2 separate regions of the Homo sapiens genome follow, and region 1 is linked to region 2. Evidence: promoter capture Hi-C in human tissues and cell types (Jung and others, 2019). All regions are on one chromosome and are shown on one strand. The core of a region is centred on a gene start or on the middle of the fragment in contact, and the rest is flanking DNA. Distances in the headings are between cores, read along the strand shown.

Region 1 (5,578 bases), core at 546-3,045, 44 kb after region 2:
TTGCCCCAGAAGGGAGGGTGTCTGCACTAAGGATTTAGAAACACTTTGGAAGCTCATAACCTCATCAGAAACTGCCTTTAGCCACACTCCTGACCTTCTAGATGAGTAACAAAAAAATGAAATAAGTTCTTGGAAATTAAGCCATTTATTTTAATTTGCTATTTTTTTCAATGTTCTAGGTATCTTTAAATTTGTTATTGTGGAATCATTTTCCTGCCAGATACCTTTATCAAAATTATTGGCCTCATGAGAGCTGAAGTAAGTCAGCTTTTTGGTGAACTTTAGTGGACTTCTGTGAGATTGTAGTTGTACTTTGTATCTCTAAATCTAAAGATAGTTTTTTAAAACTCCCAAAGAAAATCTGCTCTCCTTTCTGATCTAAAAACTCATCTTTGGGGTAAAGAGTTAAGTGTCCAAAGGTTGTCACAGTTCATGAGGTCAGAGGGAGCTAGCCTGGCACCTGGACTCTGCCCATCCACAGCTGACAGATTCCAACAGAAGTGTATTTAAATTCTCCAGTAGACAATGCTGGGTAAGGGAGGGGGTAGGGCTGGGTTATTAAGATACAGGCTGCTGTATTTTACATTGGTTGTGTGGGAAGGGGAGCCTGGAGAAAACAAAGTCACTATTCCCTTTTTTGAAACAGGAAAAAAAATTATTTTTTGTTCAGTAAAAATGGTAGAGAATTCCAATGTCCCTAGCCACAAGGGACCAGTTCCACTGAGAAGTGAACAGTGGGAACTCAAAATTTCAGAAACATTGGGGGAAGGGAAAATTGGCTTTCTCTTAATTGGCAGATGTTCCAGTGGGGGGGGGGGGGGCTCTGTTTTTGTTGGGATGTGTTATGTTGTATGTACGCATATATGGACCGGAGTCTGCTGAGTTTATAAGGTTCCAAAAATATGGTAAAATCTTGGTTTTTGTTAATTTATCTCAATAAAAGCCCACTGGAACTCCAAATGTGTGTGTGGTATGTCCTTAGTAGCAGCTGTGTGCATAGGAATCTGAGCATTTTGCTCAGGTAATTCATACTGTGAAACAGACATTTCTCAACCCATCATTCCTGTGAAGCCCAGTTGAATTCAGAGCCCCTTCATCTGTTGTAGATACTGTTCCACCATGCTGTCAGATTTCACAGCCTAAATGGAGAACCAAGATAATCGGTTGGGAAGAGGGGAGATGTGGTCCATAATATGTCCAAATACATCAGTAATTACCACCTCCTACAATTGTTCTCAAATGTAAAGCTGAACATACCCCCAAAACCAAGGCATACTACATCTTAACAGTATGAATGGAATTCATATGCTGAGAACTACAAACCACTGATGAAATAAAAGATTGGGAAATAAAAGTTGGGAAAAGCAGACACTTAAAGTTGAGCACATCACTCTCACTACCTCTCTACCCAAAGAAATGCTTAAGTATAACTAAGAAAATAGAGTCAGTCCCCTGTATCTGGGTTTTACGTCTGCACATTTAGTCAACTGCAGACCAAAAGTGTTAGGCCTACAATGGTTGGGTCTGTACTGAGTATGTACAGATTTTTCTTGTTCTCTGAACTACAGTATAACAACTATCTACGTAGCACTTATTGCACTAGATACGAGTAATCTGGAAATGACAAAGTGTGCAAGATGATGTCCAGAGATTATACGCAAACACTACATCATTTTATATAAGGGACTTGAGCATCTGAGGGTTTGGGTATTTGCAAGGGAGGGTGGAATCCTGGAACCAACCCCCATGGATACCAAGGGGCAAACAACTGCAATACCTATATGCTGGAGCTACAAAATAAACTGACAGAAAAATCAGACCTAGATAAATGGAGATGCCATGGTTCATGGACTGGAAGAATAAATCTTGAGTTTCACCAATTTGGTCCAGAGGGTCAATGCATTTCCAGTCAATCCCAATAGGCTTTTTTGTAAATACCCACAAGCTGATTCTATAAAATAACGTGGAATGCTGGGTGTGTTGGCATTCACCTATAGTCCCAGCTATTCAGGAGGATAAAATGGGAACATCAGTGGAGCCCAGGGGTTCCAGGCCAGCCTGGGCAACATAGACCTCTCTAAAGTAGTAAAATTTATATGGGAAGGCAAATTATGCTGTAACAATTCTGTAATAGGAAGAAATTGGAGGAGTCACTACCTGATTTGGACTCAATATAAAGATGCAGTAACGTATTAGCAAAAGGATAGACATGTATTGATGGAACAGAATAGCCGAAAAATAGACCCACACAAATATAGTTGATTTTTGACAGTGCAAAGGCCATTCAATGAAGAAAATAGAGTCTTCAATAAGTGATATTGAATATGTTGCAAAAAATCTTTCACCCATTCCTTGTGCCTTCTATAAAAACTCAAAATGGATCATACGGCCAGGCACAGTGGCTCAGGCCTGTAATCCCAATACTTTGGGAGGCTAAGGCAGGCAGATAACTTGAGGCCAAGAGTTCAAGACCAACCTGGCCAACATCACAAAACACCACCTCTACTGAATATATAAAAATTAGCTGGGCGTGGTGGTGCATGCCTGTAGTCCCAGCTACTTAGGAGGCTAAGGCACAAGAATTGCTTGAACCCGGGAGAGGGCGGTTGCAATGAGCCAAGATTGCGCCACTGCACTCCAGCCTGGGTGACAGAGCAAGACCCTATCTCAAAAAACAAAAGAAATGGATCATAGACCTAAAAGTAGAACATGAAACTATAATTTCTGGAAGAAAACGAGAGAATCCGTGACCTGTTTGGGTTTGGCAGAAAGCTGAACATGCGATGTTATGGAGAAGATTGATAAGCAGCTGTTAAAATCTTCTTATCAATTAAGTGAGCTGTGGAGGATATAGAATAAGTAGTAACTTAGAATAATAGGAATTAGAATTTAGTTCAAGTAAATTCAGAAGTTAAGGAGAAAGCTGGGCCCAGTGGCACACGTAGTCCCAGCTACTCAGAAGGTTAAGTCTGGGGGATCGCTTGAGTACCTGCAGTTCAAATCCAGTTTGGGCAACATAGATCCTGTGTGTGTGTGTGTGTGTGTGTGTGTGTGTGTGTGTGTGTGTGTCTCAAAAAAAAATGTTAAGGAGACTTCAAAGATTTACAGATTGTACATTGGAAAAGTACATTGGCCAGTCACAGTGGCTCACACCTGTAATCCCAACATTTTGGGAAGCCGAGGTGGGGGTATTACTTGAGGTCAGGAGTTTGAGACCAGCCTGGCCAACGTGGTGACACCCTGTCTCTACAAAAATGCAAAAATTGGCCAGATGCAGTGGCTCATGCCTGTAATCCCAGCACTTTGGAAGGCCAAGGCAGGCAGATCACGAGGTCAGGAGTTCGAGACCAGCCAGGGCAACATAGTGAAACCCCGTCTCTACTAAAAATACAAAAATTAGCCGGGCATGGTGGTGCATGCCTGTAATCCCAGCTACTCGGGAGGCTGAGGCAGGAGAATCACTTGAACCTGGGAGGCGGAGGTTGTGGTGAGCCAAGATCGTGCCACTGCACTCCAGCCTGGGCAACAGAACGAGACTCCGTCTCTAAAAAAAAAAAAAAAAGTCCAAAAAAATAAGCCAGGCATGGTGGTGGGCACCTGTAATCCCAGCTACTTGGGAGGCTGAGGCAGAGAATTGTTTGAACCCGGGAGGCGGAGGTTGCAGTGAGCCGAGATCGTGCCAGTGCATTCCAGCCTGGACGACAGAGCGAGACTCCGTCTCGAGAAAAAAAAAAAAAAAAAAAGCCGGGCATGGTGGCATGCACCCTGTAAATTCAGCTGTTCAGGAGGCTGAGGCAGGAGAATCACTTGAACCCAGGAGTCGAGGTTGTATTGAGCCGAGACCGTGCCACTGCACTCCAGCCTGGGCAGAGTGAGACTGTCTCAACAAAAAAAGTCAAGTCAGATAACCTGTCTCCAAATTCAGTTCTTTCACTGCACTACCCTGTCTATAAAGGAATGTGGGGGGACATGTCTTCAATCAGAGGAGCAAAGAGAACGGATATGAAAATCACTTAACAGTACTGTACAGTCTGGTCTAAGGTCAGACTTCCTTGTAGACTCTGTGGGAAAGTATTGATTCTTAGATTCCCCGGTTGTCTTTCCATTATCTCATTAATCTAATTACAGAATAGAGAGTGTAGCAGGTGCCTACATCTTCAGGGCTGTTCTCTAAGCTCACTGTCTCCACAGATTGGCCCGTATGAACCACACTAACATTCCCTTTGGTCCCTGGCTTCCATTTGGGTTTGCTCACCAGGGATTCCCCCCAGGAAATCAGTGGGAAGGAAGACAGTAAGGTCCTCTAATTCCCTAATTAGAGTGTGTCTGCCTCTAATTCCCTCCCTGCAAGATTGTCTCTAGCTGCTTCGTCCTTCAGCGTGAGGTCTCTTACTGAGTCTGAATCTACATGACTCTTGCCTCATTTTCTGGTAACTGTTGCCTCCCTTTGTTAAGTTCTGCTACATAAGTCCTCTTCAAATTATGCTATTACAAGTGCGCCATCTGTTTCTTTTTGGGATCCAGACTGATAGAGTAATTGGTACCAGAAGTGGCCCTGGGAAACAGACTCTTAAAATTAGATCTGGGATTGGGTTAGTCATACTTGAAGAGCTCAATAACCTCCTCATGGGAGGTGGTGGAGGGGAGGCCGGGAATGGGACATGAGTGATCCATGGCATACAGTGGTGTCACAATTCAAATTTTGACTGGTGGTACCATGGGATGGAGTGAGGTAAAGGGCAAGGCATGGGGAAAGGGAGCTGTGACAATTATAGTGACAATAGGCCCTCGAGTGCATGCAGAAGAATAAGAGAAATAAAAATTAGGGACATGCCAGCTGGGTGCGGTGGCTCACACCTGTAATCCCAACATTTTGGGAGGCTGAGGCAGGTGGATCACCTGAGGTCAGGAGTTCGAGACCAGCCTGGCCAACATGGTGAAACCCCCATCTCTACTAAAAATACAAAAATTAGCTGGGCATGGTGGTGGGCGCCTGTAATCCCTCGCTACTCTGGAGGCTGAGGCAGGAGAATCACTTGAACCCAGGAGGTGGAGGTTGCAGTGAGCTGAAATCGCACCATTGCACTCTAGTCTGGGTGACAAGAGCAAGACTGTCTTAAAAAAAAAAAAAAAGAAGGAACATGCAATTAACATTCAAAGAGAAAGAGAAGGCCTCCTTGGGAGTTTTGGTGAAGGGCCCTTATCTGTAGATATTTTTGGTGTTAGCTAATTGATTCCACTGTCCCTAGGACTGAAATAGATGGCAGCCTTTGAAAATCAAGTTTTACTTGATTTGTATAAACAGAAAAGCTCTAGATCTGTTGAAGAGAATTCTGACTTGAGCTAGTCTGTTGAACTCCCCTCAACAAGGCCAGTTCCTTGAATAAAAGGGAATCTGAATCTGGGTCCCCCTTCTAGCCTTTTTTTTTTTTAGACGGAGTCTCGCTCTGTTGCCAGGCTGGAGTGCAGTGGCGCGATCTGGGCTGACTGCAACCTCTGCCTCCTGGGTTCAAGCGATTCTCCTGCCTCAGCCTCCCAAGTAGCTGGGACCACAGGCACGTGCCACCACACCCGGCTC
Region 2 (5,202 bases), core at 335-2,834:
ATTAGATTTTGTTTCTCTTGACCTAGCTAGCTTTTAGCTCCAAAGTTTTGTTTAACTTGGAAGAAGACAGCAGTTCTATTATTTCTGTCAAGGATAAACACAGACATTGGGATCTGAAAAGTATTATGGGAACATACATAAATATCTTCATAGTGAGGGTCAGGCCGGAGAGTCACCCTTTGCCTTAAGCTTCTCCATTTCCTTACTGAATTCCTATTTCTATTATAACTGACGCTTCACTAGCTTCCCTCCCTTTAGTGGAGGGCCCGGCCTCCTCCGCCCCTACTTTCTTCAGTCTTGCCCTTCGAGGGCAGGAGAAGACGGTTGCGCCCTACTAACTCTTCACCTTACAGTCCAGCTTCTCCCCCCACCACCCCGGTGCGCTCTCTCGGTTTGCTACCCTCTCCACCAGGCCTCCCCACTCCACCTGCGCAACGCCCCCAGCTCCGTGCTCTCCGGAGTAATCCCCCCTCAGTCGCACTCTCACAGCCCGGCCCCTGCCCCCGCCTCACCCCCAGTTGTGCCTTCACCTCCCGGTTCCTCCTAGACAGGTCCCCCAAGATACGCCCTCACAGTCCGGTCCCCCGCCGTCCTCTCCCGGCGCACGCTCAAGTCCGGTGCCTTCCCCCCGCAGACCCCCGAGGCGCACCCTCAAGCTCGGTGCCTCTGCGCCCCCCGCAGGGGCGCCCTCAAGCCTGGTACCCTTCACATGAGAGCCCCCCGGGCGCACCCTCAAGCTCGGTGTACCCCCCCATACCACCCGCAGGCGCGCCCTCATGCCCGAAGACTTCCCCCGCCCAGGTGCACCCTCAAGCCCGGTGCCTTCCCCCACAACCAGCGCCCCCAGGCGCACCCTCAAGCCCGGAGCCTACCCGCCGCCAGGCGCGCCCTACAGGCTCGCCCCGTCCCACCGCGCAGCGCCCCCCGCGCACTCTCTGGAGTCCTCCCTCCTGCCTGGTGCGGCCTCCGGGCCCGGTCGGCCCCCCTTCCTGCCCCCACACTCAGACGCGCGCCCGGCGTCTCCGGGTCGCTAGTTCCGCGCCTTCCTGCATGGAGGCGCGCCCCGAGAGGCTCGGACGCGGCCCCTTAGGCCCGGCATCAGCCTCCCCGGCCAGCTGGAGAAGTCAGGTCAGCTTCCTGTCCCCGAGCAGCTGCCCGGGGGCCAGTTTTCAAAACATATCCTTAGTCATGTAATAAAGAGATGTTCCTCTGGTCTCAACTCCCGATTTTTACTTTGGAGGGGCGAAGGCAGGCCTACCCTTGCCAGCCACCATTTCTCAATCACGTCGCGGCTGTGGAAAAGCAGCCGTCCTGTCCCTTCAGAAAGGAACTCGTATTTCCCCCTCGAACTTTTCTCGTCGGTGTGAGAGAAGGGCCCTCCATTTTCTCCTCAGGAAGCTTTCGCGGCCCGACTTCCTCTCACCACCAGGCCAGGAAGGCAGTGACGCCGCGGCGAATATAGCCGCGGCGGCCGAGGTTTCGCCATCTTGAGTGGAGGAGGAGCCGCGGTCGCCGCCATGCGGAGAGGCAGGGAAAGAGGGAGGAGGCGGCGGGCGGGCGAACGGGCGAGCGAGGGAGGGGGCAGAGGAGCCGAGTTAGCTCAGCCAGGCGGCGACTTCGGCGGCGCCACGAGAGCGGGCAGCGGAGGAGGTAGGGCTGGACAGCCGGGGGAGCCGGCGGCTCGGGCGGCTGGCCTGCGCGCCCCTCGGAGCGGGGCGGGGGCGGGGGCGAGAGGAGGCCGTAGCGAGAGGGCTGGGTGGGGGCGGGCGGAGGTTTCCGAGGAGGAAGGAGCGTCCGCCATTTTGGGAGCTTCGAGTCAACAATAAAGGACCGAGGGTGCCGAGCGGGAGTGGCCTCGTTGGTAGGACACGGGCCCGAGTCGCGAGGCTTGGGGTGAGGTGGTGGGGTCGAGGTCAGCGGTGCTTTGGGGGCTGTGGGGAGCCCCCCGGGCCGGCTCTGGGGGACTCTCGGGCGGAGGCCTAAGGCCTGGCCGGGCCTGGGGAGGAAGGCGGTCGGCAGCTGTGTGGGGTGGGAGCGCCTGAGAGGAGGCGAATATAGGAATGTGGTGCGCAGCAGGGTCGGCAGGAGGAACAGGCTAAGTACTCGGAGTAGCTTTATCGAAGATGAGGGAATATGAGGCCGAAGGGGGCGGCAAGGACTTAGGGGGATGATGGTGGAGGTTATAGGGTACGAGGCGGCCCTATAGGGGGCGGCAGGGACATGCTGTATTGGAGGGCTCGGTTTAGAAGCAAACCGGCCGCTGCTTGATTGCAGTAGGCCTTGCGGGTCAATAACAAGAGGGTATTTATGGAGCCCCCGACTCTTGGAGGAAAGGAGGGGGATTTCTGGTTTAGGGGGTCCATTTGGGGCCTCCTTGGGGGAGTCCCTATTGTTTGCTACTAATGGAGCGGTTGCTGGCTCATATTGCGCAGATAAGATTGCAGAGCCCCAACCTTTTGTGTTTATGGTCAGAAGTGTGTGTGTTTGGGGCGTGGGGCGGGGTGCGGGGGGACAAGAAATTTCCTTTCAGTTACGGGGTTCCAGTCATTAGTCAATGACTCTTTCCCGTATCTCTCTCCTTTCTCTTCCTCAGCCCCCATTTCCCTTCAGAATAAAACCCAGTCACTCCAACTTGCAGGCAAAGCTAGAAAAACTGCGCTGCATTTGCAAACAAAAGCTCTTGTTGGCGATGACGATACTGTTTTGGGTGTGAAACTGTCAATTGCTAACTACGATCTGTGAAGTGCTGTAATTAACTCCGCTAGGGGCTCCTCCCAACTAGTCTACGTTTCTTGTTGTTTGTTTTTTGTTTTTTTGTTTTTTGTTTTTGAAAATGTAGAAAACTTGCAAATCTAAATTGGGAAGGGGTAGGAGGAATATTTCCTTCTCTGAGAAAAAGCTGCAGTGCAGGTTTCAGTTTAAGAAGGGAGCAGTTATCACATAGTCTCATTTTGGATTTAAGGATATAGGAGGTCTTACTGTGCATGATGGACAGTAATGATGATATCGTTCGGTCTTTAGAGGTTGCCCTTTTCATCCTCTTAGTGCTCTGCAAACAGCTAAGTCTCTGTGAACTGCGTGATATCGCTGATCATAATATAAAACCGTCAATACAGGAAAGTAGCTGTTAACCATATCTGCTTAAGAGGTCAGAGTCTGAAGTAAACAGCTTTGTGTATGTGATAATCAGGATTTGCTTGTGAGCAACTTGTTCATTTTTTTTTTAAGGAAGGCATAATCAAGGAGCATTTTCTTCATAAATGTTGAGATCTGTTGACTTTAAAATTTTGAGTTTCACATGCCTTGGTGTATGGCAGAAAGAATCAGCACTCGTAAGCTAGTGTATTTTATATAAGAAATGTAACGGGGTTGCTGGGAGCGGTGGCTCACACCTGTAATCCCAGCACTTTGGGAGGCCAAGACAGGCGGATCAGCTGAGGTCAGGAGTTCGATACTAGCCTGGCCAACATGGCAAAACCCCGTCTCTACTAAAAATAGAAAAAATTTAGCTGCGCGTGGTGGCAGGCGCCTGTAATCCCAGCTACTCGGGAGGCTGAGACAGGGGAATCGCTTGAACCCAGGAGGCGGCGGTTGCAGTGAGCCAAGATTGTGCCACTGCACTCCAACCTGGGCGGCAGAGCGAGACTCCGCCTCAAAAAAAAAAAAAAAAAAAAAGTGTAACGGGGTTAAATCAAAAGCCAACAGAGTAGGGCTTTGTTTTCGTGTCTTTGTATGTTTTTATTAACTCCAATTAAAAGTAAGATTTCAGCCGGGCACGGTGGCTCTCGCCTGTAATCCTAGCACTTTAGGAGGCTAAGGCGGGCAGATCATTTGAGGTTAGGAGTCCAAGACCAGCCTGGCCAACTTGATAACACCCCGTGTCTACTGAAAAATACAGAAATTAGCCAGACCTGTAATCCCACCAAGCTACTTGGGAGGCTAAGGCATGAGGATCGCTTGAACCTGCGTGGTGGAGGTTGCAGTGAGCTGAGATCGGGCTACTGCACTCCACTCTGGGCAACAGAGTGAGACTCTGTCTCAAAAATAATAGGCCGGGCGTGGTGGCTTACGTCTGTAATCCCAGCACTTTGGGAGGCCGAGGCGGGCGGATCACCTGAGCTCAGTTGTTCAAGACCAGCCTGGCCAACATGTCGAAACCCCGTCTTTACTAAAAATACAAAAATTAGCTGGGCATGGTGGCGCATGCCCGTAATCCCAGCTACTCAGGAGGCTGAGGCAGGAGAATGGCGTGAACCCAGGAGGCGGAGCTTGCAGTGAGCTGAGAGCGCGCCATTGCACTCCAGCCTGGGTGACAGTGCAAGATTCTGTCTCAAAAAATACAATAAAAAATAAAAGTAAGTAAGATTTCCATTTACGGGATAATTTTAAACTGAGGTTGACTAGTTTTGTGGGTTTTGTTTGTTTGTTTGCTTTGTTTGTTTTTAAGTCAGAGTATTGCTCTTGTTGCCCAGGCTGGAGTACAATGGCATGATCTGGACTCACTGCAGCCTCCACCTCCTGGGTTCAAGTGATTCTGCTGCCTCAGCCTCCTAAGTAGCTGAGATTACAGGGCCACCACGCCCAGTTAATTTTTGTATTTTAGTGGAACGGAGTTTCACCGTGTTGGTCAGGTGGTCTTGAACTCCTGACCTCAGGTGATCCACCAGTCTTGGCCTCCCAAAGTGTTGGGATTACAGGCGTGAGCTACCGTGCCCCTCCTACCAGTTCTTTTTTTTTTTTTTAAACTATTAATTAGCTTTACTACTCTGGATTTCTTGGAAAGTTTTCTTAAAATTACTAGTGTGTTTAGTCTTCCGCGGATTTTTTTTTAAACAGGAATTTTCCTGTTTTTTTAAATTTAAAATTAGAATAGTTATTAGCTAAGTTTGTTATAAATGAATAAAATTATTAGAGTCATCTTGGTTTTGTCAATTTCAAAATAAAAATTCATTTATACAAAATTTGTGTATATCATCCGTCCTTGGGATCATTACTTGCTGGATGCATTATGGCAGAAATACACTATTCTCTTGACTGCTTCATTTATTGTTTTAAAGGACAAAAAGGAAAAAAGAAAATACATTTTTCTTCTTAAAGTTTTTTGTTGTTTTTTGAGACAAGGTCTCTGTCACCTGGCTCACTGCAGCCTCCGTCTGCCAGGTTCAAGCGATTCTCGTGCTTCAGCCTCCCAAGTAGCTGGGA

Evidence for each region. The method cuts DNA at HindIII sites, captures the fragments that hold promoters and counts their contacts. A contact is called where the count stands out against the background at its distance.
Region 1: a contact is called between a fragment that was not itself captured here and the fragment with the promoter of DDX6 in region 2, in 2 of the 25 tissues and cell types used here (hippocampus and liver).

Annotation. Positions count from the first base shown.
Region 1 is chr11:118,743,145-118,748,722 of GRCh38, reverse strand. DDX6 (DEAD-box helicase 6) reads left to right here. Exons shown (of 14, transcript NM_004397.6): 14 at 1-960. Among named protein-coding and RNA genes, the nearest start is that of DDX6, 45 kb to the left of the region's middle. The HindIII fragment of the contact is 8,714 bases long and covers 1-5,578 here.
Region 2 is chr11:118,787,546-118,792,747 of GRCh38, reverse strand. DDX6 (DEAD-box helicase 6) reads left to right here and starts at 1,584. Exons shown (of 14, transcript NM_004397.6): 1 at 1,584-1,650. RefSeq lists enhancers at 197-752, 1,369-1,478, 2,789-2,968, 2,427-2,984 and silencers at 809-1,098, 1,549-1,878, 2,509-2,588. The HindIII fragment of the contact is 8,574 bases long and covers 795-5,202 here.